7 separate regions of the Homo sapiens genome follow, and regions 2, 3, 4, 5, 6 and 7 are each linked to region 1. Evidence: promoter capture Hi-C in 16 types of primary human blood cells and fetal thymus (Javierre and others, 2016). All regions are on one chromosome and are shown on one strand. Each heading gives the region's core, a stretch centred on a gene start or on the middle of the fragment in contact. The rest is flanking DNA. Distances are from core to core; before and after follow the strand shown.

The links. The method cuts DNA at HindIII sites, captures the fragments that hold promoters and counts their contacts. A CHiCAGO score of 5 or more calls a contact.
Region 2: a fragment that was not itself captured here is called in contact with the fragment with the promoter of TMEM106B in region 1 in 1 of 17 cell types (total B cells); the score reaches 5.6 in total B cells.
Region 3: a fragment that was not itself captured here is called in contact with the fragment with the promoter of TMEM106B in region 1 in 1 of 17 cell types (M0 macrophages); the score reaches 5.5 in M0 macrophages.
Region 4: a contact is called between a fragment that was not itself captured here and the fragment with the promoter of TMEM106B in region 1, in 3 of 17 cell types (M1 macrophages, M0 macrophages and M2 macrophages). The highest score is 12.0, in M1 macrophages.
Region 5: a fragment that was not itself captured here is called in contact with the fragment with the promoter of TMEM106B in region 1 in 1 of 17 cell types (monocytes); the score reaches 5.1 in monocytes.
Region 6: a contact is called between a fragment that was not itself captured here and the fragment with the promoter of TMEM106B in region 1, in 3 of 17 cell types (M2 macrophages, M1 macrophages and monocytes). The highest score is 6.8, in M2 macrophages.
Region 7: a fragment that was not itself captured here is called in contact with the fragment with the promoter of TMEM106B in region 1 in 1 of 17 cell types (monocytes); the score reaches 5.4 in monocytes.

The regions. Positions count from the first base shown.
Region 1 is chr7:12,208,923-12,212,919 of GRCh38, reverse strand. It overlaps TMEM106B (transmembrane protein 106B), which reads right to left and starts at 1,626. Exons shown (of 8, transcript NM_001134232.2): 1 at 1,495-1,626. RefSeq lists enhancers at 909-1,425, 1,818-1,867, 1,426-1,944, 2,078-2,227 and a silencer at 1,328-1,637. The HindIII fragment of the contact is 6,470 bases long and covers 1-3,835 here.
Region 2 is chr7:13,062,785-13,066,781 of GRCh38, reverse strand. No RefSeq gene overlaps it. Among named protein-coding and RNA genes, the nearest start is that of ARL4A, 380 kb to the right of the region's middle. RefSeq lists a silencer at 3,711-3,911. The HindIII fragment of the contact is 260 bases long and covers 1,780-2,039 here.
Region 3 is chr7:11,411,478-11,415,474 of GRCh38, reverse strand. It overlaps THSD7A (thrombospondin type 1 domain containing 7A), which reads left to right. Exons shown (of 28, transcript NM_015204.3): 18 at 2,675-2,819. Among named protein-coding and RNA genes, the nearest start is that of THSD7A, 420 kb to the left of the region's middle. The HindIII fragment of the contact is 2,884 bases long and covers 550-3,433 here.
Region 4 is chr7:11,431,923-11,435,919 of GRCh38, reverse strand. The region is part of intron 13 of THSD7A (thrombospondin type 1 domain containing 7A); the gene reads left to right. Among named protein-coding and RNA genes, the nearest start is that of THSD7A, 400 kb to the left of the region's middle. The HindIII fragment of the contact is 4,062 bases long and covers 1-3,724 here.
Region 5 is chr7:11,462,210-11,466,206 of GRCh38, reverse strand. The region is part of intron 9 of THSD7A (thrombospondin type 1 domain containing 7A); the gene reads left to right. Among named protein-coding and RNA genes, the nearest start is that of THSD7A, 370 kb to the left of the region's middle. The HindIII fragment of the contact is 6,994 bases long and covers 1-3,997 here.
Region 6 is chr7:11,478,349-11,482,345 of GRCh38, reverse strand. It overlaps THSD7A (thrombospondin type 1 domain containing 7A), which reads left to right. Exons shown (of 28, transcript NM_015204.3): 7 at 364-558. Among named protein-coding and RNA genes, the nearest start is that of THSD7A, 350 kb to the left of the region's middle. The HindIII fragment of the contact is 1,999 bases long and covers 1,183-3,181 here.
Region 7 is chr7:11,495,603-11,499,599 of GRCh38, reverse strand. The region is part of intron 6 of THSD7A (thrombospondin type 1 domain containing 7A); the gene reads left to right. Among named protein-coding and RNA genes, the nearest start is that of THSD7A, 330 kb to the left of the region's middle. RefSeq lists enhancers at 520-1,020, 1,021-1,521. The HindIII fragment of the contact is 5,403 bases long and covers 1-3,997 here.

The DNA of each region.
Region 1 (3,997 bases), core at 377-2,876:
TTTTAGCGGTTCCTAAAAATAGATTACATACATTCAGACAGATAGTATTTCTTTCAAAAATTCTCACTTATTTGATTAAACAAAACAGACATTCCAAGTAAGTCAGTTCATCCTAGAGTATGAAGAAAATTTTACTTTCTAGAACTGGCATGCCTGATAGGAGCCTGCTTGGTGGGTACAATGTGTGTTGCTCCAGTGCTGGATGCACTAAGGGCTCTGACTTCACCAGGATGTTGTGTATCAATGTAGCAAATGGCACTTGTACTCCATGAATATACACAAAATAAATACAAAGATAAAAAAATAAATAAAATTCGCATGCCATCCACTTGTTGCTGTCACTCAAATAAACAGAATTTAAAAAACTATACAAATGGTATGCAAACAAATGTAAAATGAGATTTTCACTCTTTCAAAAAAAAAAAACTATGTATTTATAAAAATCACTGCCCACATCAAAAATACAAATGATTTATGACTTCTAAAAAATCATTGTCTTAATCAACACCTGTCAGCCACAGGTAGGATAGGGAAGACTTAACATCACTGTCCCCACACACTGTAACCTTGGGGTCTATGCGGAACACTAGATGAATTGGGATCATTGGGCCTTATCAGCAAGGCCTTAAGGGCACTCTTTCTGGGATCTCAGTCAACACAGCCAGGCTGTAAGCTGCATCTTAACTGGAGCGCGTTGAGAAAAAAGACACAGAAAGGCAGACTCAAGTGGCTCTCCGTTTGAGCCTGTTTTCTGTCCTAATCTAATAGCTGCCATGATCGATTCTGCTTTAGGGTAGGTGTTTGGACAAGTGCCAGACTCTGTGAGAAACTGGGAATCCCTTGCCTTCTCTACTAGATTTTCCTTAGAGAACTGACAAGTGTAACCACTTTTATTCTTGGGAGACTCAATGGTTTAAAAAAGGGGTGCTAGACCCTCTTCTGCAACCTCTGTGGGCTCAGTGTTATTTATTATAGCGGTTCCTTAGTTTACTGAAAGTCAACATGGATATCAGACTCAGTTTGGAGAGAAAAAATATATCACAGCACTCCAATTTAAATGGCTCCTGATCTTCTGTGTAGACACTGGTTTTAGTTCTAAAAGGGCTTGAGAACTAAGGAAACAAGCGCCTTTGAAAAGCTCCATAAACAACACCTAGCACAAAGCCTACTCTGTAAAGCTGCAAAATAAGATCCCGGCACCACGGCAAGAACATTCATCAACAGCAAAAGGAAGAGGGCCACCTGGCGCTCAAGGTGTGAGGGCCTAGAGGCAACCCAGAGGTAGGGCTTGGGCCGAAGCCGAGTGTTCCCTGGCTGGGCCTCATTAGAGGCGACACAGCAACTCGATCACCAGCCCTGACCGCCGCCGTACCTGCGGCTGGCCCAGCACCCCAGCGGCCTCCCCTCCTTGTCAGGCCCGGCTCAAGCCGCGGCGCAGCCGCTCAGCCTCGCTCCGGAAGGGGACCTGGGGACTGCACGTCCGGGGTCGCTCACCGGCACGCGGGGCGCTGCGCAGTCCCGGGCTGCTTCGGCGCGGACAGGGCCGAGGACAGGGTCGTGGAGTCCACAGTCCCGGGAGCCGGGGGGTGGAGCGACCGGCCTGGAGCGCGCGGCCGCCGTAGAGCTGGGACGGGGGAGGGGTAGGATAACGACGGCATCAGCAGAGGCCAAGCGCTGCTGTAACCTGCGTCCGCGCCTGCGCAGAGCGCTCCCGGAGGGACACCCCTGGCGTGCGCGTGACGCATGCGTCCTTCTTCCTCCTGTTTGAGCCCAGAGGCGTCGATCGTGTGAGATTGTGCGCTCTTCAGGTTTCATTACCTTCGCGTCCCCCAGACTTCAAAGTGTCCACTGTAGCCACGAATTACCTAGGAACAGTCGCTCCTCCTATTTCCCATATCAGACCATTTCCTTTTGCAAAGGGTATAAATGTGCACCATCTGCCTCAGCTTTCAGCTGAGCAGCCTCCTCGCTCACGCAATGCGAGTTGTCGCTGACAGTCTGGTCCTTAGGAATGGAATAAACTGGTCCGTACACACGCCGCTGACAGCAGCAAAGCTACCTCTATTTTAATTTAGAAACTGGCCAACTAGAAGGAGACAGCAAGCGGCAAGGCCGTAGTTTTTGTTTTTGCTCGGTTTCGTTTCGCTTTGCCCACGCTGCCCCTCCCCACCCCTTAACTCTGGTGCTAGTTACAGGTGTGTGAAATCCCGTCTCGGATCCCAGTACTTAAGCTCTTCGCTGTGGGTTGGGGCTGCCCTCCCCCAACGTCTAGGTCATTTCACTTAGAAGATAAGAACAACGACAAGGAGTCGTTTTGAGGGATCAATGAGATGCCGGTAATAATATTAAGGGCACTCTAGTCTCATTCCTGCGGAGAGTTTAACGTTTAATGAATGGTAGGCATTCTTACAGTCACAGGAGCAAGGAAGTGAGAGTCATATATTTCTCTCTTCTAACAGGATCAGTGTGATCCTGTTAGAATCAGGGAATTCTAACAGGAATTGGGAAATGAAGCTATGTAAAAGTAGGAAATACAAGTCAGAACGATATACAATTTAAGAGGATTACTGTAGATCCATATGTGAGATAATGAGCTTTCTCATACAATGTTGTCGGAGATTTAAAACTCCTAAGTTTTCTGGCAGACAGTCAGTATGTATCAAGACTATTAAAATGTTCACATCGTTTGGTCCAGCAATTCCACCCTTTCAGAAGTATCCTAAACCTAATGAGAACTCTAAAAAGATTTGGGTATGAGGTGTATCCATTTAAATAAACTGAATGTCCAACAAGGGACATTGATAAAATCATTATTTTTCAACCGCTTTTATTTAGCCCATATTTTCCAAAGGGAAGGGTCAGGGTGTCTTCCATTAACACTGTTTGAAATTTCAAAATTAATAGGTTGGTTAAAACAAATCAGAATCATGGGGGAAAATTTTTCTCAAAATTATTGACAGTCCACCTGTGGAGATATGATGTTCCCCTTGGAATTACTGAGTTTTTAAAATTATGGAATAGCCATCTATTGAGTTTTTATAAAGCCAGTAAAAACCATCTTATAAGGCTGTTATACGCGGAGTGATATAAAATTAAAATCAGGATGCAAAGTATAGGATATGAGGTATTGTAATAGGATGTAAACTATATTCACATATAGATAACATATAGATATAAATATATTACATATCTGCCTTGAAATGGAAAGAAATATACAAAATATAAACAGTTGCCTGTAGTTTGAGAGCATGGATGTTTTTTCTTTATTATTGTTAAATAGGCAAATGGTTCTATAATGTAATATATATTATTCTTAAGTGAAAAAGTTACTTTTTTCTTTAATTCTTAAGGGAGTATTTAGTATTTTCTCAACCTCATCATTTAACTTAAAACGTGCTGGCCATATAGCACAGTTCCTTATCCAAATTCCTGGAATTCACATAGGAATAAGTCTTCCTGGGAGAATGTTGCTGTAAGAAGCAGTTCAGTAGCAGGGTTGGGAACACAGCCTTGGGAGCCATATGGCCTGAAAATGAGCCCAGCCTGACAGAGATATACAAAATCTCTGTAAGAGTGGGCAAAATACTTAGCCTTCTTTATACCTAATTTTTATTATCTGCAAAATGAAGATAGTAATAATGTCTGTCTCAAAGGGTTATGGATGGGAGCTGATACCTGCAGAGCAATCAGTAAATATTAGATATTATGATTACAAATTTATCATCCATATAACAAGGAAGTACTTTAAAGACAGATATTGAATGTTTGGTACATTTGTTCCTATGCCTTATTTTTCATTGAAGCACATTTTGAAAGGAAAATTTTCTGAAAAGCTTCCAATTATTTGATTAACAGTGATTTCTTGAGTTCCGAGTTCAGTAGTGGTCTAGGTGCTATCAGATATAAAGGCCAGTAATTTTAACAGTCTGGGATAAGTTTGAATAGAAGAACATTCTTTCTTAATGATTTCTGGTTATATTTAGTATGATGCTGAAGC
Region 2 (3,997 bases), core at 660-3,159, 850 kb before region 1:
AAATGTTGCTAAAAGTGTAAAAAAAATTGCTTTTTACAAAATTTCACTTTTGCTTTAATTTCCCAAAAGGGGATGCTCCCTTAAAAATGGGAAATGGGAAAAAACTTTCACTGCTCTAATAAATATTTCATTTTCTCTTCACATTCTATGGTTTTCTAGTTTTAAATAAGTTACTAAACATAATGTCAAGACATCTGCCAAAGTGCCTCATTTTTTCCTCAGAAATATATTATTTACTGAAACATCTGTTTATGTAAATAACATAAACTCAGTAAATATCTGATTGTTTTAATAAATAATATAAACAAAACGATACTTATTATTCCAAAATGCATTAATTGGCTGTCCCAAAAAATTAGATTACTAATCATACTCTATAGTGTTTAAGGAATCCCCAGCACTGCCTCAGCATTTCCTCAGCACAGATATTACCAAACATTAAAGAATTAGGATGTTAACCATGTAGAAACTTGTGTAGTTTGTGGTTCAAAGCTGTTTCTTACAAATTTAAAGAGCTAATTTCACCAATATTGTCATCAAAATATCAAAAGCTTTCATGGAATTTTTCAAAATAAACTAATTGTTGCTCACTTTTTTTTTTCTTAAGCTATATGACAAAAATAATTTCAGGATAATTTTCCAGATTCAAAAAAAACAATGGTTAGGATTTTTTTTTTTTTTTTTTTTTTTTTTCTGAGACAGAGTCTCGCTCCGTCGCCCAGGCTGGAGTGCAGTGGCGCGATCTCAGCTCACTGTAAACTCTGCCTCCCGGGTTCACACCATTCTCCTGCCTCAGCCTCCTGAGTAATTGGGACTACAGGCACCCGCCACCACGCCCGGCTAATTTTTTGTTTGTGTTTTCAGTAGAGACGGGGTTTCACCGTGTTAGCCAGGACGGTCTTGATCTCCTGACCACGTGATCTGCCTGCCTCGGCCTCCCCAAGTGCTGGGATTACAGGCGTGAGCCACCGCACCCAGCCAGGATTGTTTTTTAAAAAGGCTTGGGAAATACTGAATTATAGAAATGCCTACCTGGGAATATTTTAACTCCTTAGATTAGATTCTCAAACATTTTATAAGCTGGTTTCTGCCTACTCTTCCAGAATTATCTACTTACACTGTTTCCTCTTTTAATATTCCAAAATGTACTGATAATTCACTAACTGCACTTTACAGTCATACATCCAAAGCACTTTCAGTTGCCTTCTCTACCTAAAAGGAATGTCCTTTCCAAGATGGGTTGCCTACTAATTTCTATGGCTGTCAATGTGAAGTAAAAATGTCTATTTGGTATCTCTGCTACCGACCACAGGCAGACAAATGTATGAGTCTATGCTATCATGTATTTATGTTTATGCCAGTTTTTAACTTATTCCATCATGTCAATTGCATCATTATGTTTGATTGTTGGCCTACTAGTGTATTCATTAGAGAACAAGTCACCTATGAGTACAGATGATAGTTTTTCCTCTTGGTAGACATTTATTTAGGTAATTAATAAATATGTATTGAATAGATGAATAATTAATAATTAATGATAACATATGTTTAGCACCTAAAGCACAGTTTATACTCAAATAGTTGATAATCAAATATAGTTATGTATCAACTATTAGTTGATACTCAAATGCTCATTGTGTTTTCAATATGCAGCAAATGATTCATTATTCATTCAACTAATACTCATTAAATTGTTATCATATACTAAGTGGTGCTCTAGACAATGAAAATGAAGAATAAAATGATAATGAAGGATTAGCCTTTTTCTATTGTGAAGCTTACGTTCCAGTAGGAGAGACAGACAATAAATAAGTAAACCAATAAATTAACACAAACACAATAAATAATATGAAGTCAATAAAACCAAAAATAAGTAATAGTTCTAGGGTAAGTAACTTTATTTGGATGTGCTGAGAAATTCTCACAGGAGATTAACACCCGAGCTGAACCTGGATGGAAAAAAGAGCCAAGCGTTTGAAGACATGATGGGTGATCTAACAGATTTGAAAGTTAAAGGGTCTTTGGAGGAAGAATAAGCTTGCTACAACTGAAAAGCAGAAAAGGAAAGTGAAGGAAGGAAAAGTATGGTAAGATAGATATGAGGTGCAAGAGATAGAGGCAAAAGACAAATAATGTAAGGCCTTTTAGAATATGCTGGAGTTTGTGTACTTTCCTTTTCTCACTAAGTGGAGGTGGAAGCCATTGGAGGATTTTTATTCAGGGAGTGACATGGTTTTAATCACATTTTAAATTATTACTCTGGCTGCAGAGCATAGATTATGGGGAAAAAAAGGAGTGATTCGTTAAAAAAATCCATTGAAGAAAGTAAGGTGGATAATGATAGTTGTTTGGGCTAAGGGGCAGCAGTGAAGGGTGAAAGAAAGACAATTATTTTGGAGACACAGCTGATAGTACTTGTTGATTGATTTCATATGAGAGATGAGAATAATTTTTTAATTTTTTTGCCTGTTTAAGTGTTCTTTTTTTTCTTTGCTTCTTTTGAGCTTGAGCATCTGGGAGGAATAGAGAAGCAAGTAAGAACAGGTTTGGTCATAGTATCAAGAATACAGTTTTGATCATATTTAATGTGAGCCAGCCTACTGGAATTCAAGTGACTATGTCAAGTAGGAGTTTGTCACTGAGGAAAGATTTAGAACTAGAGATATACATCTGTAAGTCTTTAAATATAGGTGATGTTTAGAGAATTGGAAAAGACTTTTTTCAAGAAAGAATATAGGTCGAGAAGAGCAGAAGATTTCAGACTAAGCCTAGGGTCCTAGAATTCCAGGGTCAGCAGAGAAGGAGAATCTAGCAGGGGAGACTGAGCTAAACTACTTAGTAGATAGGAGGAAAACCAAGGTAGTGCAGAGTTCTGAAAAGGAGAAAAAAATTCAACAAGAATAAAATGGTCAATTAATCTGTTACAGAAAGAACAAATAAGATGAAGAATGATGAAACATGGTAATTTTTGTTTTGTTTCGTTTTGTTTTTTTGAGACGGAGTCTTGCCCTATCGCCCAGGCTGGAGTGCAATGAAACGATCTCGGGTCACTGCAACCTCCGCCTTCCAGATTCAAGCGATTCTCCTGCCTCAGCCTCCTGAGTAGCTGGGATTACAGGCAGTGCCACCACACCCAGCTAATTTTTCGTATTTTAGTAGAGATGGGGTTTCACCACGTTGGCCAGGATGGTTTCGAACTCCTGACCTCGTGATCCACCCTCCTCGGCCTCCCAAAGTGCTGGGATTACAGGTGTGAGCGACCGCGCCCAGCCAAAACATGATAATTTTATCTGGCAAAATTGAGATCATTGATAACCCTGGCAAGAGTAGTTTCAACAAAGTGTACAGGGGCGGTGGGGGGGTTGCCCAAATGAACTAAGTTGAGAAGAGGCTGGAATCATCATCACGTTACTGCAGAAACAAGCTTTTTCCAAGAGAAACAGCTGCACATCAGAACTTTGTAAAGAAAGAAGTTTAAAGCAACTCTATCGTGTAATTTACAATTGTTTTCCCATCCTCCACAATGAGAGTTGACTGTATGAAGCCTCTGAGGTGGTTTAGCCCACCTTACAGTAAAGTGCAGTGATAAGAGGACAGATCAATTGCATTCTCTCTTTCAGCACTGACTTTGAAGTGGAAGGATATAAGCAGTGGGAGCTGAAGTTATTCAGATACACAGAGCAAGGCCTTCGGACGAGAGCTTTGATGAGTCCTGAAGCAACTGAAGTCATGAATACGCATAAGTTATAACTTACAAGGCAAGCTATTTGGGACAGAAGATAAGGCATCCACTTCTTAGGAAAAATGAGCTACGCGCTCTACGGTGTCTGGGGCAACAGAGATGAGAAGGGTAGCTGGAGCTCATTAACAACAGAGTGTTAAGAGTAAAGATTTACAACCTCTTGATGCCAACATCTCTACCTAACTTCAATTTCCCATTTTGATACCTTGGTTCCTGCTCTCTCACAATGCCTTATTCTTTGGATCTCAAGGCCTG
Region 3 (3,997 bases), core at 742-3,241, 800 kb after region 1:
AGCATCAGTGTGGAATCAGACTTTAGTTTTGGGAGTTAGACTTAGGCTGTAGACCTAAAGTTACAATTGGTATAATTGGTATGTCCTTGTTTGTGGGAGGCCATGAAAGAATTTACCTATGAATCTTCTATGGGAGCAAGTTATTCATGATGCCCGAGGCCGTTTATCTTTCCTTGGGAATCTGGCACAATGCTAGCAATAGCTATTCATTTGGAAGAGAATGTTGCAAGACGGCCTCCAAGCTTACGCTTCCCTTTTGCATAGGGAGTATGAGATCCTGAGATTTTTTTAAAAACTTTCCTTTACATTTGTCATATTTGAACATGATTTGAACAATTGGCCACATTTGAAACTCAGTGATTGCACAAGAGTAGGTTACAGTCTTTTTACACATCCAAAGAGGGTATAGTTCACTGTGTGTGAAGAAACCTTTAGGATGAACTTGAATGTAAGGAGGCAGCGTTAGCCTAAATTTAATTTGACATGTTTTACCTTTAACTCACATTGTTTCTTCACTCAGGCCTTCATTAAACAGATACCAACTAAGCTTTTACTGTCTATCAGTAACGGTGTTAGGTAGGGAGAATATACAGCTATCTAAAACATAAGTCCTCTCCTAGTGCACTGCAGAAACGAACAAGACCTTTATATAATACACATTATGTCAAAACAGATAGTGTTATTCCAGTGTGACCAAAGTGCAACGGAAGCAGGGGAGGAGGAAGCAATTATTTTAGGCCTTAAAAAGTCCATGGAGGCTTGTTCCTGGTTTCTTACTGTTCTTAGAAACCAACTGTTTTCAGAAGACTGTACCAGTAGATGAATGGCAAGCCAGTCTTTTTAGATGTTGTCAACTGAAGAATGACAAGGTTCATAAATTTAGAAAGGAGAGCTTTACATCTCATAAAGGGTTGCAGCCTGCAGGGTGGCCATCCTGACAGGCTGGGAATCATAGCTGCCAGCCAGAAGCCAGAAATAGACACTTCTAGGGAATGGAAAGGGAACAGTAACTAATTTGTGTTGAGCAGGGTGGCCAAATATACATATTTAATAAGCTATATGAGGAGTCATGAATATTTATAAAAAACAAAGAGTATGCATGTGCAATTGAGCTTTATGCCCCCTCGTGTCCCACGTACCAAAAATGGTGGCATTAGCATGATCCAAGGGTGGGATTTTCAGTGCTCTAATGTCAAAAGGTGAAACAGAGGTCACAGAAACCCTTACTGTACATCCTCCATGGACTACCCAGAACCACTCCTTGGTCAGTGGTTTCTTATTAGGAAGAAATGCTGGTTGGTTGTTTTGTTGCAACCATAAAAGGGAGAGGCAGTGTCAGGCTGTAACCACCCATGGGGTTCTTCCTGCCTGCTGCACAAATAAAGACCAGGGTATTGCAGTAAAGAAAGAGTTTAATAGACATAAGGCCAGCCATGCCACATGGAAGATGGAGTTAGTACTCAAATCAATATTGTCTAAGGCTCCTAGGTAGGGGTTTTTCAAAGGCAGTTTGGGGGAAGGGGTGGGACTGCCAGGGAATGGGTGCTTGCTGCTGATTGGTTGGGGCAGAGATGAAATCACAGGGGTCAAAGCTGTCCTCCTGCAGGCTGAATTCTTCTGAGGGGCGCACAGGAACTGGGTTGGCAGGTCCAGGTAGAGCCCTGGGTGTTAGACATGCAAAAAAATGGAAAAGATATCTCAAAGGCCAATCTACTATAGTGGTGTCATCTGCAGGAGTAGCTAGCAATCATTTATGTCTACACCTTAGCAGAATTCAGGTTCCTCTCCTCTCCCAGCCTGATGGCCTTTCATTAGCTTTACAAAGGCACTTGGGTTTGGGGAAAAGCCTGTTATTTAAACTATAAAGTAAATGTTTCTTGAAGTTAGCTCACCCCGAAAACCCAGGAATAACTAAGAGAAAAGCGAGATGAAGGTGGGTTAGATCAGATCTCTTTTACTGCCATAATTTTCTTACTGTTATAATTTTTGCAAAGGCAGTTTCAAGACAATTGGTTGATCAGGTGCAGAGTGAGTTTTTCCAAAGGGCTTGTTTCTGTATAACCCTTACGGAAGAACGCCTAAAGGCCGAGAACTCAGTTTTCAAGGTTTCTCTGTGGTCCCTATGGCCAAGAGGGGGTCCATTTGGTCAGTTGCAGGTCTTAGAACTTTATTTTTTTTTCTCAATTCTAAATTAAGAATTAAAATTAGGATTTAGAATTAGAATTGTTTATATGCATGTATATGTGTGCATCAGGAAAAGGAAAGTCACTAACACCTAGTCATTTAAAGTTATTCTTAAAATGTCTTTTAAGGCCCAAAAGACTATACGTAATCCACAAACATATAATTATATATATAATAATACACATATAACTTTATATATATAATAGCATAATAATTAATATGACCACCATATGTGTGGCTGTGTATAGGTGTGAGGTGATGTGTGTATTAACATTTGACACATGGCATCTTATAGCTAGATGGTACATCAAAATCTCATTCAACACCTTCATTTTATACATTGAACAACTGAGGCATAATGAGGTTGACTGACTTTTCTGAGTTAGCCAGTGGCCCAAATGTTCTAACTCCTGCTCCAGTGCTGTCTCTAATATACCAGTTGTGTAGCTGAGTATTCACCTTTCTGAGAATTTGTACTGTTCTTTTTAAGCCTTGCAATCAAAGCAGTTTCCGGCAAAGGTCAGCTGATCCCATCAGACAACCAGCTGATGAAGGAAGATCTTGCCCTAATGCTGTTGAGAAAGAACCCTGTAACCTGAACAAAAACTGCTACCACTATGATTATAATGTAACAGGTACATGGATCATCATCTGATCACGGAGTTAAGTCCAAATCCTGTGTCTGTCAGCTCTGAAGCATTCCTGTCAGTATAGTTCATCTCTACCTGTGTGCCTTTTGGATATGCTGCTTACTTTCCCAGAAATAATTACATATTAAATGACAGAAATACTTATCTGGGTTTTTTTTTTAGTAAACACTAAGATAGAGGAAATAAAAATGTCAACAGACATTAGCCCTTAAAGTAGGTTGTGAATATACTAAGTGTTCCTACATAAGACAACCTCTCACTTCGGGAAGGTGAATCTAAAATATTTTTGGCACAGGTATCAGATTTATTCAAAAATGTCTTTCTTTTTCAGAAGATGCTTAATTGCTAAAACATACTGGGGCAACAATTCATGAGGTGTGGGCAGTTTATAAACATGATTAGTCAGCAATCTTAAACTTGCCAAAGATTATAAATCAATGCTATAAAAGGTGCAGGTAAAAATTGATGAGTATTTTCAGAAAAACAGATTTATTATAAGTTGCATTTTTCCCCTAAAACTCATTTAATACCATCAAGGTGCATACTCTAGGAAAGAAAATCTTTTATTGGTTTATATGAATTGGGGCAACACGAAAGCTTACTTTGGAATTTTTCCCAAGTAATTTTCACTCTGCAACAAACTCAAGAAACTGTACAATGACACATAACAGTCATATTGGCTTTGTTTCTTTTGGTTTTTCTCTTCAGTTTCCTTTGATGATACAAAAAAAAAAAATCACAGTTATCTGGGATGTGCTATGTTACCCAGGGAAAGAGGTGTCTTTTATGTCTTCTTACGAAAGACATAAGAGAATGAATAAATATGGCCAAAGTGATTTTTATCACTTTAATAAACGTATGCATTTTCTTGCATTCTAAATATGGATAAGAAATAAAATGTATGTTTTATCTGAATATAACTACACAGTTAAAGTACCGTCTGTCACAATTATGATTATTTGGCTAAAAGTAATGCTAAGATTTTAAATTATATTTTTATTGGGAAAGAAAGTTTTTAAGTGACATTGATCTGTAAGCCAAAGCCATTTTCACAGTGTCACCAAACGGCTAGCTATCAAGATTTTCAAGTAGACATCTGCCTTTAAGAATAATCCCTGTAGCTATGTGCAACCCCAGCAATTCCATTTGACTCCTGATACGTT
Region 4 (3,997 bases), core at 444-2,943, 780 kb after region 1:
CTTCACAGGTTAAGGGCCCAGTACTCCACAAGACTCCTCTCACTTCAGATATCAGCTGCAAATTTGGGAGTCTCCAAGCCAACCTTACTTCTCACAAGCTGGCTGCAAATTTCTGACTTCCCAGTACTGCCCCAGGCTCAGTAATTCACTAGAACAGCTGACAGAACTTGGAAAAGCAATATATTTACCACTGCAGTTTTATAATAGCAAAAGGATACAAATCAGAACCAGCTCGAAAGGACAGGTAGCTGAGGTGAGGGGGCATCTGAAACATGAGGCATCCATAATCTCTTTAGTGGAGGCAGGAGGCATCTTTCTCTTAGCACACTGATGTGCATTTCCAAACAGAAAGCTCACCTGAGCTTTGGTATCCAGAGTTTTTATTCAGGTTTCATTATATAGGCATGACTGAAGAATCATTGGCCATGTGGTTAAATGCAATCTCTCTCGTCTTAAAGGTGGTCAGATAACATGTAGCTCAAAGCTCCAACTCTCTAATCAGATGATTGGTCTCTCCGGTGTGACCAGCCCCTTCCTGAGATATCCTTACAGCATAAAATCATAAGTAGTCTGAGGAGCCCACCATGAATAACATAGATAGTTCTATCACTAGTGAAATTTCAGGGCCGAGAGACCTACCTGGCCAAGGGCCAGGCAAATTCTTTATTATACAAGAGAAGCCTTTAGAGTTTGCTGTAAGAAACGCCCTTGGTAATGAACTTGTACATAGATATCACTCAATGAATCTGAAAAAGCGTGGTCATTGAGTAAATTCCCAGTATTAAAATAACAATAACAAAACCTCACAGCCATTCATACTGATATTGAAATTTTCTGTGAAAATTTATAAATACTTAGCAGATATGAATACATATGCTTTCAAATGTATATAAAATGAATAAATATAATTAAAATAATATTGTATTATACTTCTATAAATTTGCCTGGGTACTTTACTATGATAATTAATTGCCTAATATTGATTTATAACTTTTCATCCATCAAATATACAACGGGTAGAACATTGGAATATAGGAGTTTGGATATATATACATAGTAATTTGGTTGCCCCAGGTATCAGATCACCAGTTTTTAATATATAATTGCTCAAGAATATTGTCCGTTTGGAAAGTTTTTGCAAAATGATTTTTTTTTTCAACTTTTTCCAGCCTGTGAGGACCACAATAGATAAAAGTCTAGCTACATTTTCTCATTCCCAGTTGCAATCAAGTGAATATAATACACAATTAAGTAGAAGAGATTTTTTGAGGTTGCTTTTGAAATTAATCCAGATGTTTCAGAGAGAATGCCAGAGTTACTCATTCACACAGCTATAAATCAGAAGCAACCAGTATTTTCTATGTGCTTTCAAAATGAATTCTTTGATCCATCAACAGTATTCCTTTCAGCAGCACAATTTAGTAATTGTGAAAGTTGTTGAAATCTACTTTATCTCCACATTCATAATTCAAATGAATGAGTGATTGTGTGTATCTCAAAGGCAATATGTCCTCCAGTTGCCACTTTAAGCCTGCTAGTCTTTTGTATTTATTTCAACCTGAAAGCAGCAGTCAAAAATATAATCAGAAGTCTGGAGTTTAATTTTTCCAAGCGTCAAATTCTGTGTTGAACTGCTGAAAGTTTTAATATCCTAATTGTGAAGTCATTTATTTTATCCTAGCATCCTCAGAAACCATACATTGCTATAAGATGCCAGCAGTTTATTTAGCCTTAAAACATTCTAAATGTTTTTCTTTCTTTCCATCCCCCATGATTGTTTGGTGTTAATTGCCCTAAAAAATGATCTGAGCAGAGAAGGCAGGGGAATGCTTTTCTAGCAGTTCACTAGTAGCATTAAGGATTTTAATGGTGCTAGATAAACATGACAGGCAATTAGTGAATGTTGTCAGACATTGGAAAATAAAATTGATATGCTAGGCAATATACGCTTTTGCAGTTTTATCTTTATCTCAGTTTCTAATTTGCATCTATCTTTTAACAGTTTAATAGGCTGCATTTTATTTGAGAGATGTTTTCTGGAATATGCTATTGGAAAATCGGACATAAAAGTTTTGTATCTCCTTCCTTAATAACACAACGTGAATCAGTCTGAAGTCATACATGTTAAATCTTACTAAAACCATAATATTTCAATCAAAAACAATTTTCCATTTATCTGTTACTCTGTGGGGTAGTGACATGTAAGGCCACCAGGTGATTCTATTTTCAGTTATAATTACTGAGCTAAAAAAGCCTAGAGGTTTACTTTTGAGAGACATTTTGCAGTTTATCAAGGTGGGAAAATGCAATTCTTATAAAAATATTTCCTTTGAAATAACTTATTACCTTTGAAATACTAGTGCTCTTTTGCCAAAGCCATTGATAATATTTGGAAATGATTTGGATGGTTCTTAATTCATTGTAGTCTTACAAATATTATTAAATGATTTGGTCATAATGCCATTGATTTGGAAATGACTTTAGATACTTTTAAAGTTTGATTGTATTTATTAAACTATAACTTATTTAAAGAAAATAAGTGATTACTGGCCCTAAAATAAGAAGAGTTATTTTTTGGGCATCTCATACTATTTTAGGTCAATTAATTTACTGCCTCAGCTGTAGGAAAAAAGGCATTTGAAGTATATTTCAACTCAGAATCATGAAGGGGCTTATTTCTCCACCCCAAAGCATAATTAAAGTCAAAATGTAAGATTTAAGTAGATCACTGCAATCTATTTTAAAATTTCAGTAACACTACTGTGAAATATTCCTTTAGTTCTTTGTTGGACTTTCCTCTGGATCATTATCGATACTCCAAAAGTCATCTTGAATATATGAGAAGTACATTAGAAACTTAGCAGTGGCATCTTCTTTCTGTCTTCTATGTCTCACAACAAACAAAATCCCAACTCTGCCACATCTGCCCTCCAGAAGATTATCTGGGACTAATGCCCACTTTCAGAACTTTTCATTGTATCCTAATCTTCATGCCAAATTTGTGATCCCATTTTTTAAAATTTATTTTATACTTCATTTACAATGGATAATATAATATACATACCATCCAATTTATCCATTTGTCTCCTAGGAGTACACCAAACAGAAATACATACATATGTCCATCAAAAGACACATTCTAGAATATTCATAGCAGCACTGTTAATAATGGCCCCATATTGAAAACTACCTAAATGCCCACCACCAATAGAATGAATAAACAAGTCATAGTATATTCACACAATAGAATGCTACACATCAACCAGAATAAACAATATTCAGCAATATGCACCAACGTAGATAAAACGCATATCACAATGTAGAGTGAAAAGGCTAGCACAAATGGATATAAACTATATGATTCGATTTACATGAAATTTTTAAAAAGTAAAACTATTCTACACAGTGAGTAGTCAGGATAGTTGTTGCTCTTGTAAGAAGGGGCAGTGGCTGCAAGGGAATACGGAGGAGAGTTCTGGACTATTGATTTCAGGGGTGTGTTCAGTGAAATTTACGTCTATGGAAAATGCACTTTTGCATATGAAGACTACAATACGAAGTTTAAAACAAATATCTTTGACAAATGTATAGGAGATACTACATAAAAAGATATGCCAGAAATCTATTTATCTTCCATTTTTTTTGGTTCTGTCTGTATCTTATAGTAGCACTTCCTAACTTAAGACCTACACAATCACACACACAAATGATTAAAAGTAAAGCTTGTGAAACCTGAGTAAGTGCTATGGATTGTATTAATGTCAATAACTTGAGGGTGGTAGAAGCTTATGTTTTTAACATGTGTCTCAGATAATTTATGATTAGGCAAGGCTAGGAAATACTGTATAGTAAATTAGTATTTTAACACTTTCAATACAGGACAGTTTGGGCACAATCTTATAGATTAAATTTGCCATTTTGGTTTAAAGGTGGTCTGACTTTCCTTTAATTAAAGAAATTAATGTTGGTAGGTTCTTTTTAAAATCCACCTACAATA
Region 5 (3,997 bases), core at 1,048-3,547, 750 kb after region 1:
TAATTCTGCGAGTAAAGTCTAAATTTTACAAAGATGTTGGGCTTATTAAAGTGCAGGACTATCCTTCTTTTTAAAATCACTTTAAGGAAGTCAAATACACAATACTATTGCACAAAATAAAACAGAATAGTAGGATTCCAGGAAGAACTAAAAGAGTTGTTTGAAATGTTATTCAGCCTTCTTCTAAAATACCCCTTGAAAAATCAATGCTGATAAAGATCAGTATTAAGTGGAGTGTAGTTTAATCCTGAGACCAGTGCACTTGCTAACGTGTTTTTCAAATTTTTGTAAATTTTGACAGAGGGCATTTTAAAAAATAGAAATACCTTATGCACATAAATTATTTGTACCTCTAATTTTAAAAAATCAATACTTTTGATCAAATAATATATTTGGTTGCTCAAATTCTGTTTGCTCCTTTTTTTTCTCACTGCATTTATTGTGTTGAGAAATAGAAGGAATATTGCAGAGGCTTCTTCCTCATGTCCTAAATCACTAGAGCACTAGAATTACCACCAAAGATCTGAATACTACCTTTACATTTTGCTTCTTGGATGAGACATTTCCCTTTCAATTTCCTATTACTGTACTGCTTCAACCTGCAATCCATCCCATATCCAGTTTAATGAATCAGTTTTGCCTGCCTTTTAAATCCTTTTCATCAAGTAATTTCTCGGTGAAATTTATTTTGAATGTCTTAAGATATCTGAAAAAATGCTATAACTGTGTGAGAGATTACATATCTTCTGAATCTGTGTACCCCATCATCACATGATTATTTGCTAGATGTACGATCTGTTTTTTCCATTCCTATCCTGGATAGGCATTTTTAAGCACAAACGTCACAGGCAGGTGCCCTTATTTTTCGCGTACTTGTTATTTCCAATGAAAACAAAGTGATAGCTTATTTTTATTAATCCTTAATGCACAGCATTGGTACCTGTGCGCTTACCACTATAAAGGAATAAGTGGAAAGAAATAGAAGGTGCTAACTAATAATCCAGTTGAGAAGATGTGAAATAAATGTGTTTGTGCGTTCAGCAAATATTTATTAAGCACTTACTATATGTGACTCTTGTCTTAGGTATAAAACACACAGATGAATAGAAACACTACAAATATATCAACCGCATATAATAAAATGAGCATAAATACAAGCAGGGGATGATGAAAGGTATAAAATTCCCAGTTTGCCAGCTCAAGTTATTAATGATGAAACTTTCATTTTTTGTTTTTAATGTGTGCTGTATAGCTTCCTTTTTTTCTGCTCTCTGATCTGAGGACTGTATAACCTGGCAAAGCTCTACAGCGCTGTAACTTTGAGTACACAAGCAATTTCTTAACTGCAATATGAGAAGAAACAGACCTGCCAATGGGTAAAAACATAGATGTCATTGACACTTCCTGTGTAACCCCATTAAACGTCTTCTCTGGGTGTCATATCTTTGAAGAGTTCCACTTGAATCAGGTCACAATCTCTATCCTGTAGGCTGTACCAGGTTAAGGAATTTGAACTTTTCATAAGAATAAATGGATTGCCACTCTGGAATCCATTAAGGACGTGAAGAGAGTCATCATAGTCTTATATATCTAGTACTAATTTGTGGAGTTTGTGATGAGAAGGCATTAGGAGAATGTTTCAGAAATGTATTCTAAGTGACATTTTTTCTTTCAAATCAACAAACAAAATAGAATTGAAACATTAATGTTTGGTAGCTGCTTCCTCAAGTAGAACAGCCCTGGCTATGCACCAGGTGCCATCTAGGTAGTTAATAAGTAGGAGCTTTAGTCTATGAGGTGCCACTAATGCTGAACTCATTGTCTCCACCAGCCCCCAAATCCCCTGGTCTTAATCCTGTGTCTGTCCTCTATCTGCAGATTGGAGAGTAATTGCCTCTAAGAATTTTGACCAACTGGGAAACAAAAACCCATTTGAGCCCTTTACGTCTTACCTCCCCATTAAAAAACAAAACAGAAACCTCCCTGCTTCCCCCAATGTTAAACAAATGTGAGTCTAATTAGTTTGTATACTTTAAAAAAAAAAGATTATGGACAGTTCATACACATAAAACAAAAGAAAAAAATAGAAATTGTAAAAGAAGGGCAAATCCAGGTAGTGAATAGGAAGGGGGTAGAAGGAAGAGGGAGAGAAAAATTATGCTAGAAAATCAAAGCTGTGGCAAGCTCCTTCAACTGAGAAGAAAATTAGCTCTGAGATTCTGGTGACCAAAGCAAAAAATAGAAGTACAATGGATTCTTTACAGATTGTCAAGGGAGACAGAATTTTCCCTAGCTCTGAATTATTAAAGGAATTTATCACCTGGGCCTTAAAATACAGGTCATTTTGACAATATAATAGATGGAGACTGCATTAGCAATTTATTAAAAGTCCTGTTGACATTTCTTAGATCTTCCCTAGATAAATTATATTTAACATGTAAAAGTTGCAGCTGGCATTCAAACTACTGCTACAATTAAAAGTCCATGACAATATTTTCAAATACTTTAATTCTCTGCTGCCCAATACTTCTAGCCCCCAATTCCCTACTCCATTACCTGTAGTATCCCGCTTATTCATTAAAATAGTTATGCCATCATTAATAGTACAGACGACACCCCACAACGGGAATAATAATTCTAAAAAGTTACATGTAAGCCCAGAATCTTACATTGGGATAGGTCATACAAGGTCGTGTATTACAGTAGATTTCAAACCAGGCCCTTCATCCCAAATACCTGGCAAGATTTTTAAATATCCTATTCCCAAACCCAGCTTCCAGATTCTGATTTAGTAGTCCTGGGTATAGGCCCAGAAATTTGTTGTTGTTGTTGTTAAAGAGATTCTCCTATGAAGTCAGCCATTTACTGATCCATTCTCCCATCCAATACAGAAATCCTCTCTAAACATGGCAGTGAGTCAGTTGCCCAGACCGTGTTGAAGAATATCTTTGACTGAATGAGAAAGGATATTCCATTATGGCAATGTTCTAATCATCAAATCATACTTTCTCCACCACCACAGTATCTTTTAAAAAGGTTTCATTTGATTTCTGATTAAACATTAATTGTTAGGAGCTGCTAATCCTTTAAAATATTTCTGTTCCTGTAGTCTATGTATGAAATATTTGAAGATCTTGCAAAATAATGAAAATGCATCAGGAGGATTCTATTAACATAATTCTTTAGAGAATTATTTTGTAAGTAAAACCCTGTGCCATGCAGCTATTCATCGTTAAAGTGTACGTAATCTTAATTGAAATATATTTTATTAAAGTTGGCAAGTTTTATACGCTACATGATCTGTATACTAAAAGATTTTTGAATCCTTACATCAGTCATACTGTCAAGTTGATGTCTTTATTGAAAGTGTATCTTAATTTTTTCCATTTTTAACATACTTTAGAGTTACTTATTTATAGTAATTATTGCTATTTTGACTGCTTCTCTAAAAAGTCTGTGTCTGCCTCTAAGAAACCACTTTCATTTTACTACTTAGATCCCTAATGTTTAGAATGTGACCTGAATTGAAGGTCTTAGACTGTCTAACATGAATAATAAATGACCGGAATAATTTACAAGTTATGCATTTCAAATTAAATGAATAACAAAGAAATAAAATTTCACATTATAGCACTGAATATATTCTCCTAAAGAAGATTCATTACATGTGTATGAGTCCCATGTGATAAACAGGGCTAGGCAAAATAGCATGACAATGAATTTAAGGTAGAGGAAAATAAATTAATTAGATCTGTCATATTCCTCAAGGGAAAGAATTATACAAAAGAGCAATTACTTTGTGACTGCACCTTAGGAAGGCTAACTGCCTACAGAACTGTTTTCTCCATTCTTCACATTTTCTCTATTTTTAAATATGAATTGATTGGGTTTTTGATATAAATGGTCTTTGGGAGAATTTAGTGAATGTTTAGACCAGGTGAAGCCTCTCAGGGATGTCAAAGCACATGTAGCTGGAGGCAATGTAATTTCTTCACAC
Region 6 (3,997 bases), core at 933-3,432, 730 kb after region 1:
AAAAAAGAAAGAGGGGACATGCTTTGTTGATGCTCCTTATTACAACTTAAGAGTACAAGTATAAAAATTAGTACTTAATGGGCAGGTGTCTGTGGCATAAGAATCGTCTCAGCAATGTGCTTGATATACCCTGATAATGAAAGAAGCCTCATTTAGGGTCATGAGTGTATATGTGTGTATATATGCTTGTTCCTGGTGTTCTATTAACATCTGGCTATAGTAGGCAATCCCTCTTTTGGCTACGTTTTTTTAAGTAAGAGCAAAAGAAAGATAATGTAACTTATCTGGGTGCCCATCTGGTTTAAATTGCTCATTTTACATTAATTTAACAATAATAGCTGTTGGTGGTCATGTTTTCCCCAGGAGAAGAAGTTGACAGACAGCTGTGCAGAGATGCCATCTTCCCCATCCCTGTGGCCTGTGATGCCCCATGCCCGAAAGACTGTGTGCTCAGCACATGGTCTACGTGGTCCTCCTGCTCACACACCTGCTCAGGGAAAACGACAGAAGGGAAACAGATACGAGCACGATCCATTCTGGCCTATGCGGGTGAAGAAGGTGAGTCGCCAGCTTCAGACGCCATCTAGGTTCGTTTCAAAAGTTAGTGTGCATCTTTTTTGTGTAGCCTGGAAAAGATGATATTCTATGAAAGTCAACAACCAGAAATTCAGCCATCCAAGATTTAATATCTGTTGATGTGTTGAGCAATTTGATTCTGTCCCCCAAAATTAATCTTGAAAATGGATCTCTAACAAAGGAGAAAGACTTTTTAAAAGTGAACTCATTTTGCTTTTTCCCACCCTTCCAGTCATTAGAGTTCTTTGTAAACCAAAGTGTTAGGCCTTTAAGAAGGTCTGAAAATGGCTCCCAAAATTTCAGATGTTTCATTGTTTTTTTCTGAATTTCAGAAGTCAGTTTTATCTTTTGAAAATCATATTCTACCTTCTCATAAATAAGTATATATATCCAATCATAAAGTTTATTTAAAATCACAAGAATAGCTACTGTTCGACCAAAAATTGCAATTTTCAGTTTCTTTGAGTTTCTTGAACATAGGCTCCGAGGTCCAGAAATCTCATATGTAAATTTTGTTCATTTTTAAAATATGTTGCTCCTAAATCTCTTCACCCTATAGGGTGAATAAAGCATGTTTGTCACATATTCAGACCTCACTTGCAAGCTTTATTGCCAAGAAATACAAGGCTCTTGGTAATTGTCTCTCAAGATGATATCCAAATGCTAATTTGGCTTCTGTGTGACTGGGTAATATAATGTCATACTTAATCTTGTCTTTCTGAAAAATAACACAAGAGTGAGAAAAGCATAAAAGTAAATCAAGTTTGTTCATATTAAGGCATGTTCTTTCTCAAGAATATAAGTGTATGTTATTTAAACATTATCAAGCTAAATGACTCTTTGTTCACATTTAGCACTGATAAATAATTATTTCTATTTGTAATAAGCATAACATTTTATGTTTTCCCCAAATTATCGATTTGGGGGGAGTTTTGTGTTGCCTATACTTTTTCTATTTTTCTGTTCATGAAGTATTTTAGTGATAGAAACATAGTGTTCCTAGTCAAATTTGCTATCTGTGTGTGTAACAACTGTGCACACCTATAATTACCTTGGCCTTTGCACATGAGTGTTACATGCGTAAAACATTTTACACACAGAAAAGCCAACCTGTGTGAAATTTTAGAATTTTCTTTATAGTGTTCAAAAACTTTTTCCTACCACCTTAATATATATTTAACTCTTTGCTCCAAAAAAAAAGTGTATCTATTGAAAAATACAACCTTTTACAAAGAAAATTATATTTCTTGTGTTGTCAAACAATGACTCTAACCTCGTGAAGATTGTATGAAGGCTTTAAACTCTATCAGCTCAGATTTTGCCTTGGGCTTCATTAAAATTAGATCTGTGGTCACCCTGCTTCCTGTAAATTCATTATACTCTGCAGACACTTGCTGTGTGACTACTAATGAATGACTTTTCACCCCACCCCGAGTCACATGGCAAGGATTTTGCCATGCTTGCAGAACTCACCAGATCATTATTCCTGTAGACATGATGCTTCACACGGAAAGGTCATGAAATGTTTTAAAGGCAGAAATTTGTGATTGCTCTTTGATATGTATCATCCACTGAGTTTGAAAGGGTAGGGCTTCAATAATTTTTAATTAAGTTTAGTGGTTGCATTATAAGCAAGTCATGCTGGAAAGTTATAGATGTTTATATAGTAAATCATAAGGGCATTAATTCAAAACAATATAGTTCTGTTTTAATTGACGTGTAATAATTGTATATATAGGGTGCAGTGTGATGTATCAATATATGGATAAATTGTGTAATAATCAAATCAAGATAATTAGCATATCTATCACCTCAGACATTTATCATTTCTTTTAGCAAGGGCATAGAGAATCCTCTCTTCCAGCTATTTTGAAATATATAATACATTATTGTAAAACATGGAAGCCATAAAAGAAACTCTGTCAATGCTATTTGTCTCTGCTGCTATTTACCTCTGTTAATAACATTTATAAAAGCTGGTATAATTATGTGAAATTTATACTTCAAAGCCTATTTAGTACCTATTAGTGGACACTGAAACATGTTTTATGAGAAATTTGTACTTCAAAGCCTACTTAGTACCTATTATTTGTTGGACACTGAAACACATTTTCTCTTACTCAAAATAAATCTTTCCTAATTCTGAACTATTTTTAATGATTTAGGAACAGCATCTGCAGGAAGTTTTAAAATGTGTTTCTCTGCCACTTAGATAATCCTTTGTAATTCTACACAAAAGTCAGTCTTTCCATTATTCTTCAAGAATTAGTGCTTTGTGTCATAAATGTTCTTAAATTTCTGTGGATCAGACACTGATTGTGATAACTTTAAAGGAAAGTGCCACATTTGAGAAATGATATATGAAGTGTTTAAACAAGAAATTATATGATTTTCTAGGGAAATAACATACAGGACAAGTCCATGCGAAAAGTAGATCTGGATTTATGAAATAAATGCTCCAACCTATACTTTCACTTATCTTAATCAGAATGCCACCATTAAACAATACTGAAGGCTGGATAACTCCTTGTAATTAATAAGGATAGACTAGGTTGTGCTTCAGTAATGGACAGCCCAGACATTCAGGAGCTTAAAGAACAAAGCTTTATTTACTTCTTCCTCATGGAAATTTAGCTACAGTTTTGGGTAACTCTACAGGGCAATTTGTCCTTCATGAAATGTCACAATATTGCATCACCATATGAAGACCTGGTTCCACAATCTTCATGTGCCAGAGGAAGAAAATACTTGGAGAATCTATCTGTCGATTTTAAGCATCAGCAAGTAAATTCTCCCATCTAAGAGTGATTTATGTCATTTCTCACGTTTCATTGTTAATGTAAGTTGTATAACTATGCCTAACTTCAAGGCGAATGAGGGAAATATAATCCTATTGTGTGCTAAAATGAGAGGAGTATTGACTAGTACTCTTACCCCTGATTTACTCAGTGTTCTTATTGTGTATCAGTGTGTATATATGTATGTATGTATCTATCTATCGATGGCCCCAATCCAGTAGATAAAACAGGGCTCCTAACATTGTGAAAATGTTAGGATTAATTATTTTTGTTCCTCTTAAATGAATGACAGAATGATAGAATGGCACTTTCTCTTCCTCATACTGCACTTCTTTTCTTTCTTTTCCTTTTGCTTTTCCTTTTGCTTTTCCTTTTCCTTTCTTTCACTTCCTTTTATTGCTAGGCTCTTTTTCTCCTTTCCTGAACAATTCTATCCAAAAAGCCATTTGGTAAAGCCAAGCAGCTGGGCATCTGTGCCAGCAGATAGGAGGTCTGTTGGTGATCTAGAGTGGGTTGTCAGAGCCCAACTGGGTGAGGAGCAACCAAAGTGGGAAAAGAGGTGGCCTGGCATGCATTTTCAGAGCCAGTGAGCAGGGTGAAGGACAGGGGGCACATGGGTTGTA
Region 7 (3,997 bases), core at 825-3,324, 710 kb after region 1:
CCTTCAGCTCCTGTATTGCTTTACTGTGATTCTCATTTTCCTTGGATTGGGGTTTGCCATCCTCCTGAATCTCAGTATCTTTGTTCCTATCCGTATTATGAATTCTATTTCTGTCATTTCAGCCAGTTGAGTCTGGTTAAGAACAACTTGGCACTCCTAGGCTGCCCACTGAAGCTCTAGGGAAATCTTGGTGTTTATATTTCTTCTTCAGCTTAGGGGCAACAGAGGAAGACATCTTATTAGTGGTTGTGGTCAAGTCATTTGCTTGACTCCTGAGAGTCAGAGAGATGCATGTCAACTCAGTGCAGTCAGCAGGTCATGCCCAGTGTAGTCAGCCCAAGATGGAAGGTTTGTGCTGAGGGCCCAAGCCAGGAGTTCCCTGTCTGGTGACAAGCCATGAAGGGTGTGTGGATCCCACAGGAGTTGGACTGACCGCCTCTCCTTGGGTCAACTGCAGCTTGTTGGAGGTGTGGATAAGGCCCTTAGGGTCTTTGCTCCTTCATTAGTCTGAGGATGGCAAGGGCTGTTCCACTACAGAGGCAGTGGCAGAGAGGCTTTCATTTGCCCCTGGAGGCTCTGTCAAAGGAGTTGCTGAGTTGGTACTGGCTTGATAACTCCAGTGCAAGGTGGCTGAAGATCCAGGCTTGGAGGACCTGCCCAGTGAGGAGATATGAGAACGGGAACCCATGTAACAGTCTGGCCACTTTTCCATAGGGCTGCTGCTGTATGCTTGGGGCCTGCTTCAGTCCCTAGTCACCTCGGATTTTCTGGAACCTGGAGGTATCACCAGTGAAGACTGTGAAACAGCAAAGATGGCATCCTCTCTCTCCCTCTAGGAGCTTTGTCCCAGGGAAGTAGGGACATTTTTGCCACCCAAAGGCATCTGCATGAAGTGGCTGGAGACCCTAGTTGGGAGGTCCTGTCCAGTGAGGAGGAATAGGATGAGGACCTGCTTTAAAAAGCAGTCTGGGCATGTTTTGATAAAGCAGCTGTGCTGTGCTGGGGGTCCAGTCCACTTCAGCCCCCGGTCACTTCAGATAGCCAAAGGCTGGAACAGCTAAGTCACCAACAGCAAAGATGGTGGCCCACCCTTCCCTCTGGGAGTGCAGTCCCAGGGGGAATTCAGATCTCTGTCAACTGGAGAGCTCAAGCAGGAGAGGCTGGAGGTCCCAGTTGGGAGGTTCCACCCAGTGAGGAGGAAGAGGATTGAGCTCCTGTTTAAAGCAGCAGTCTGGCCACATTTTGGTAGCACAGCTATACTGTGCTGGTGGATCCCTTTCACATCTCCAAAGCCTAAAGGCTAGAATGGCCAAGGCACCCAAACAGCAAAGATGGCAGCCCGCCCCTCTCTCTGAGAGCTCCTTCTTAGGGATTCCAAGCCAGTGGGTCTTATCATATGAGGTGCCATGAAAGTGGGGTCTGTGGGCTGTTATGGATCAGCCCCATGGCTTCAGCCTCTTATCTAGGGGTATGTACAGGAGTCTAAGCTCCCACTTTGATGGAGCTGCAGCTACTTTTGCCAGAAGGCCCAAGTATCTAAGGCTCCAGGGTCTTCACACATGCCTGAGCGGCTGCTCTGCCAAGACTCCACATAGCTATATTGGACTGAAGACTGAAGGTGGAGTGGGTTCTCAAAGAGATCTCCTAACCCAAGGGTTGCAAAGATCTGTGGGGGAAGCATGGTTTCCCGGGATCGCTTATTCACTCATCACTTCCCTGGGCAGGGGATGGTCCCCTGGCTCCATGTTGCTCCCAGGTGAGCCATTGTCTTGTCTTGTTTTTCTTCCCTCTCTGTGAGTCAGGTTGTTTCCTTGATTAATCCCAATGCAAGTACCTGGAAGTTTCAGTGCAAGGTGTTATATTTACTTGCCCTTCTGTTCCTCTCCCTGAGAGCCACAGCTCTTAGCATACTAGCTGCTTCTAGTCGGCTATCTTGGCTACTAGTCAACAGTTATTCTTAAGATAAACATTTTCCAAGTGGAAAGTTCTATTATGTATTAAAGATTATTGAGAGTACATTATACTCCAAAAAATGTATTTACCAAAAAAATGACCAGTGTTTTCCATATCTTTGAAACAACATTGGATTGGTAATTGGCTTTGTTTGAACTACTTTCTCAGGAGTTACCTTATTCCTAATGTCCCCTAAAGAAATGCAATGAGGTACATTTTTATCAATACCATTAGTTTTATATTTGACAGATGCACCAAAATATCTGGCCTATCTCAACAAACATATGTCTATTATCTTATTGATTGATATGTTTTGGCTGTGTCCTCAACCAAATCTCATTTTAAATTGTAGTTCCCATAATCCCCACACATTGTGAAAGGGACCTGCTGAGAGGTAATTGAATCATGGGGGCAGTTTCCCTCATCCTATTCTCATTATAGTGAGTAAGTTCTCATATGATCTGATGGTTTTATAAGGTCTTCCCCCTTTACTCAGCTCTCATTCTTCTGCTTCCTGCCACCATGTGAAGAAGGATGTGTTTGCTTCCCCTTCCACCATGATTGTAAGTTTCCTTAGGCCTCCCCAGCCATTCTGAACTGTAAGTGAATTAAACCTCTTTCCTTTATAAATTACCCCATCTCGGGTATCTCCTTATAGTAATGTGACAATGGACTAATACATTGATTTACGTTGGATAGCTTAATTTCTGGACTCATGACATCTATATTGTCTGCTCTAATAAAGTCTCACAACTTTTTAGCCTCAGTGTCTTTATTTACCTAGATTCAATGATTGTTGACTTTGGTTCTACCCTTGGTTGGCTAAATGTTTTCATTTGTTTATTTTGTTTCAAGAACATTTCATTGTATGTTTTGCATGTTTGAGTGAAATTTGCCACTTTTATATTTCATCTGTATAGTTTCCTTACTTGTAGAAGTGAGATAATATCTCCTGCTTCTAAAAATTAGTGTAAGCAGCTTACGTAGCCACAGGCTCCTGGCCCTTGGAAGAAGTGTAATTTATTTGTGTTCCTTAGTGCATTAGATAGTTGAGCACAATGCTGTGGAGGAATATCTATCATCTCTGTAACGATAATTTGGCCTCATACATGAAAAAAATTACGGATGTCTCAGCCCTAAACCCCAGGTCATATGGTCACTGAATCTCCAACTCCATCATCAACTTGTGTAACCTTGGGCAAGTGTTTTCCATACTATGGGCCTCATTTCCTAATCCTTAAACTGGATCACCTCTCGCATATTTTCTTGCCACATACAATAGTGTATTATTGAAAAATCACAAGAGAAGACAAATAAATTAAGCTAGTCTCTCACACTAAGAGGGGACAGCATAGTATAAAGTTGGGGACATTAATCAACTTCCATGGTTTTATTTCTCTGTAATATGGGTATAATAATCATGTCTACTTCATAGAGTTGTTGGAAAATTATATCCGCTAAATCCTGTAAAACACTTAATGCCTGGCACATAACATTGCACAATAAAAGTCAGCAATTATTAGTTCCATGTTATAATTTTATGTTCATGACTTTCAGATTAGAATTCAGGAACATTATAGTCACATATAAGCATAGCATTTCTGCATACTTCTGATTCTGTAGAATATATCACTTTAAAAATTCATGATACCAGAAGACTAGCTGACAAGATTCTCCCATTTGGGTCTCTATTAGTATTCTTTCCATTGACTTCCCAGTAACTTAACTTGTCTAAAAATCTTAACTCTCCAAATCCCCTGTTATTTCGATTCTGTGTATTTCATCTCATCCATTTTCCCCCGGCTTTGTAAGTCCATCCAAACTCAAGCAAAGTAGCTTATTATTCTTACCCTCAGGGTAAAGACTTCAAAAGTCTCAGCACATTATCTATGAAACTCATTCTGCCTGCATCTTCTCTCCTTGTTTGATCACATAGGCAGCCTCTATTCCATCTTTAATATGTGCACATAAGCCAAACCCTTTTTAAGATTTTTCTAGTTCAATAGTGGTTTTGATTTTGTAATGGCTTCTAGAGAGCAGTATC